Regions from separate parts of the Homo sapiens genome. Here region 2 is linked to region 1. The links are contacts of gene promoters, found by promoter capture Hi-C in blood cells and fetal thymus (Javierre and others, 2016). All regions are on one chromosome and are shown on one strand. The core of a region is centred on a gene start or on the middle of the fragment in contact, and the rest is flanking DNA. Distances in the headings are between cores, read along the strand shown.

The links. The method cuts DNA at HindIII sites, captures the fragments that hold promoters and counts their contacts. A CHiCAGO score of 5 or more calls a contact.
Region 2: a fragment that was not itself captured here is called in contact with the fragment with the promoter of KRTAP1-4 in region 1 in 1 of 17 cell types (total B cells); the score reaches 6.8 in total B cells.

What each region holds. Positions count from the first base shown.
Region 1 is chr17:41,028,813-41,031,547 of GRCh38, forward strand. It overlaps KRTAP1-4 (keratin associated protein 1-4), which reads right to left and starts at 1,383. Exons shown (of 1, transcript NM_001257305.2): 1 at 539-1,383. The coding sequence starts at 1,266. The coding sequence ends at 901. RefSeq lists an enhancer at 473-1,022. The HindIII fragment of the contact is 2,506 bases long and covers 34-2,539 here.
Region 2 is chr17:41,286,866-41,289,565 of GRCh38, forward strand. No RefSeq gene overlaps it. Among named protein-coding and RNA genes, the nearest start is that of KRTAP9-7, 13 kb to the left of the region's middle. The HindIII fragment of the contact is 390 bases long and covers 1,116-1,505 here.

The sequences.
Region 1 (2,735 bases), core at 133-2,632:
GTACATCAAATGAAGGTGAATAGTGGGAGTTGAAGCTTAGAGAGCAATTCAAGGATCAGTGGGAAGAATGTGAAAGGCTAAGGTGTAGAAATTAAACCTAAATTCTCTTGGAAAATAGGTAGTATCTAGTAGCTATTTTTAAATCTATTTAGAAGGTAATGCAATTTCTTTAGATTTTGGGGCATAAATGAAGGAGAACATTTAGTATATTAAATGGAAGGAGACAAAAGATGGTAGAATTACATTTAGATAGAAATCAATAGCTTTGATCAACCTTAACATTTTAGCTAAAGGTCAACCTTTATTGGTCTAGACCTAATCATAATAGATTAGAGCATGTAAATATTTGAACTATAAAAATTCTTTAATTCATGGAGCATTTTTAAGCTGATGGATTCAAGCATAATTTACTTTGTATTTAATCTTTCTGGTTTAGACTTTATGGTTATGCCTTGGTATTATTATCAAATTGCAAATCCACTCTTGAATACCAGCTACAAGAAGACATGTTTAAAGGTAGAAGGAGGACATAACTCAGTTTGCTTTGCACATTAAAACATTTTATTTGGATTAATCAGAGATATTCAAGGAAAAACCAGGTCTGAAGATGCATGAGCATCAAGAGAGAGTTGGGGGAGCAGAGATGTCACTGAAATGATGAACTATTCCATCCTGGTCCTCTGCTCAAGCAACGCAAGCTATCCAGAACACTGATTGATACATCTTTCAGTAAGTGAATTCGGCACATCCACAGTGTCCTAACTAGGAGTTTCATTATCTCTGAGCAGCTTAACAACATCATGGTACTTAGCATCCAAGTAAAATCGAACAGTTCTTCAGAAATCAGCACAATTTTGCTGTGCTTCCCCTTTCATTCTTAAGCGATCAGCAACCTGGCTTTTAGCAGGTGGGCTCACAGCAGTGGCAGCAGCAGGCTGGGCGGCAGCAGGACTGTCCACAGTAGGACGGGCGGCAGCAGGAGGCCTCGGCGTGGTGCAGCTGGCAGCAGGATGGGGGTGTGCAGCTTACCAGGTAGCAGGGGGGCAGGCAGGTGCCCTCCACGTGGCAATCTGGGTGGCACCACCTGATACGGGTGCTCACAGATCCACCGCTGCCCTCCTGGCCATAGCCAATGCCACCACCAATGCCACAGCCGGTTCCGCAGGAGCTGGTCTGGCAGCAGCTTGGCTGGCAGCAGCTAGTTTCACAGCAGCTTGGCTGGCAGCAGCTGGAGCCACAGGTCCCACTGGTGGAACAGCTGGCCATGGTGTCAGGAGTTGGGTTGAGAGCTGTGTTAAGAGAGGTTTCTGAGTTTGGGCTGTACCTTCTATATCTGTCCTTTGATATGTTCCCTAGAGCTGCATATTTACCCAACACCTTTTCTTGATGTCAATTTCAGTGTGAGTCTCTGGCTAATACCTGAGGTGTTTATAAAGTTATAAATAGCATTTCAATAGCCTTTTTCCATTGTACAATTAAGTCTCATTATGTTTCTTCTTTGCCCTCTGGGCGAAGTGAAGGCTCATCATGGAAGCCAAGCACCGAAGTGCCTCTTTATGCAAGTCACATGACAGACTAGCCTTGAGCCAAGTGTCGCCCTGGCACGTTTTGTCATAGTTGTCCTTTGATAACCTTTAGGCAGAATTTATCTTAACTGATCATTTTTCCTTAAATGGTCACTTAACTATGATCATGATTTTATAAACAATTTGTCCAGACTTGGAAAGACTAACATTAGTGTCATCAAAACATGAACTACAACCTGATGTATCAACTTTCAAACCAAGTATGCCTTTCTATGATCAATTTGTGCAAGTTATAGGATCCTCAGAGCTCTATCTAATATTCTTGCCTTCAGTAATAGTGAATGTACAAATTGCTAACTAAAATCTTTAATGACTTTTGCTTGTAGATTGTTTTCTGACTCTATTAAATTAAACATATGTGCTAGTAATGAGTACACATTGTAACAAGTCAAAGAGTACAGAGGTATATAAAGAAAAATTAGTGTCTTTTCCCTTCCTGGAAGATGCACACATCTCTTCCAAAACTAATGCTCTAGAGGTAATCAATATTAAGAATTTGGTGCACATTCTTTGACACCTTTATCCTTGCTTCTGCAAATATAAACCAGCATATATACATATATATCTTCTATTTCAGAAAAGTTTGGGTCTCCTACACATGTTTATAGTTACAAATTTTTAATTGTGGTAAAATATACATACCATAAAATTTATGAACCATTTACATTAACCATCTTAACCATTTGTAAATAGTCTTGTCACCCTTGTTGAAAATCATTTGACCACATTCACATTCAGAAGAAATGAAATTAGACCATTGTCTCACATTATATACAAAAACCAACTTAGAATGGATTAAAAGACTGAAATGTAAGAAAGACTCAAAATGATAAAACTATAAGAAGAAAACAGAGGAAACTCCATGACTTTTGCCTGGCCAATATTGTGATATTGTGAACATGAATCCAAAAGCATCAGCAAAAATAGACAAGTGGGATTACATCAAACTAAAAAGCTTCTGCACAGCCAATAAAACACTAAACTGAGTGAAGACGCAAACCGCTGAATGGGAGAAAATATTTATAAACCACATATCTGATAAAGGGTTAATATCCAAAGTATAGAGGAAACTCAAACAACTCAATACCTGTAGTAAGAAAACAAATAACGTAATTGAAAAATGGGCAAAAAATCTAAATAGACATTTCT
Region 2 (2,700 bases), core at 61-2,560, 260 kb after region 1:
AGAATCGTGGGGAACCTAAAATTTGGGAGACTGGATCTATATTAGCATCAGAGAAAATTTTCATTCAATCTGAACTGATCAAAATAAGGATAGCTCCCTCTCCTTCAGGAAGCATTGAGCATGCCAGCATTTGCAAAATATATACCCGAACTTGAATTGCAAGAGCAGTTTTTTCCTTTTTGGCCCTGAAAATAACTTACAACATCCAAGAAGACTTTAAACAATCTATCTTTTACCTATTGCACAATTTGTTATTATACAATAGGGGGCTTATTGTTATTATTGTTGTTTGTAATGGTATTTCTAGGGCTTTCTATATTTCAAATGACTGACTCTTAATTCTGTTTAGTGCTGAATCACTGTTTTCCTCTTTCGTTTTTCTTTTAACTGGTAAATATTAACTTCCTTCATACAGCTCTGTCCTAAGACAGGTACAGCTAGCTTATTGGTGACAGCCGGACATGCTTGCACTGAATGACCGATGGTTTCCACTCTTCTTCTTTCCTCCTCTTTCCTAGTAGCTCAGTTCAATAAGGTTAAGCCCTTTTCTGATGGTTTGAGATACATTTAAAATGAATTTCTTATATTTATTTTTCTGGTGAAATAATATGTTATCAGGGAAACAATAGGGATTTGGCTTTTAAAAATTCATCATAGTCTTGTTAAAAAAAAAATTATTCAATGGCACTTGTGAAAGCCTGGTAAGGGAGACTTTATTCAGGAACACTGCAGTAAACAAAGGAACCACCATAACAGGGTCTTGCATTGGGAGACAGAGATTGGACTCATCTCCTAACATAGCATGGGCAAGTGAGAATTTACAGCCAAGGAGCAGGGTGGCGGTCAGTGGATGGAAAATTACTAAGAGGAAGCATCACCAGTAGGGAAATTTTGGCTAAACTGACCTAAAAGTGCTCTTGCTGAAGACAGGCGAGGGTGATCAAACATCACTTGGAGAATGGTGGCAGATAAGAGATCTGATCCGCTATTAAGGGTGATCAGATATCGAGGATGGGGAGTTCTTGCTAAACCTATTTAGCAGGGCTCTTTGCTAAAATTTTACAAAACTGGATTTTACAAGGAAGTGCACCCATGGGCCTATGAGAAGGTTCAGAAGCTTGACTAAACTATGGACAAGGAAAAAAATCTTCATTGGTCCTTACTGCCTTTTTAAAGAAACATTGGACTTCATGGCCACTAGTGAGGGTTTGGATTTAACTAATGAGTATCACTAGAAATTGGACATGCATGAGATTCACCATCCCTGTCCACCACCTCTGCTGATTGTCTTAATAACTGGTTAATTTTGCCACCTCTAAAATATCTTTCCTGCACATTTCTTCATTGTATTTATAATTTGAATTATCTTCTTTGCAACTAAGGCATTTCCCAATTTATCACCTAGTAATCTATACTCATCTTGCATATCCTTTCGTGACCTAGATTATGTGTGCAGTATATCCTTCATAAGCTCTTAAATTTAAAGGATATTTTATATTTTACAAAGCTTTTTCCCATTTTGGCCTGGCACAGTGGCTCACACCTGTAATCCCAGCACTTTGAAAGGCCAAGGCAGGAGGATCATTTGAGGTCAGGAGTTCGAGACCAGCCTGGCCAACATGGCAAAACCCGTCTCTACTAAAAATACAAAATTAACCAGGCTTGGCAGTGTGCACCTGTATTCCCAGCTACTCGGGAGGCTTAGGCACGAAAATCACTTGAACCTGGGAGGCAGAGTTTGCAGTGAGCTGAGATCGCGCCACTGCACTCCAGCCTGGGTGAAAGAGCAAGACTTTGTCTCAAAAATTAATTAATTAATTAATATTTTTAAAAAAACAAAGTTCTTTCACATCTATTCCCATGCCACTAAGTCAAGAGACTAATTTTTAAGACTTCGGGAAAGATCTATGGATCCCATCCATGCTGACTTAGAGCATAAGCAAATAGTTCATTTAAACAGCAACCCTTTAACCAGGCACAGTGGCTCACACCTGTAATCCTAGCACTTTGGGAGGCCAAGGTGGGTGGATCACTTGAGGTCAGGAGTTCAAAACCAGCCTGACAAATGTGGTGAAACCCCGTCTCTATTAAAAATGCAAAAAATTAGTGGGGTGTGGTGACACGCACCTGCAATCTCAGCTACTCGGCAGGCTGAGGCAGGAGAATCGCTTGAACCCAGGAGGCGGAGGTTGCAGTGAGCCAACATCAAGCCACTGCACTCTAGACTGTGCGACAGAGCAAGACTGTGTCTAAAAAGAGCAATCCTTGGATTTTGTTTGCAACAGCTCTAGACTATTTATCAGGAAATCACTACCATCAAATATTTTTCCAGTTCCAGCTAGGTTCAGGTGTTGCCAAGAAGTTTCTGATGAAGTGGGCTACAGGAGGGAACTTACTTCTAGATGTTATAGAACTATTGTTGTAAGATGAATTTATTTAGGTGGGCAAACTGATGAGACCAACATGAGTAACACCAAATGCCGTACACCACGCAGATGGGCAAGTTTCATGTTATACTGGGGACTCATGGGCTCATTACACCCATCTTTTGGGCCATTTTTATGTCTCAAATATCAGTTTTTATTCTGTTGTCTTAACTTATAGCCACTGAGATAACTCCCTACTGATATTTAGTTTCCAAGTTGACCTTTACAAGGCTGCCTTAACTTTGCCCCTTAACATCCTTTATCAAAGCCCATT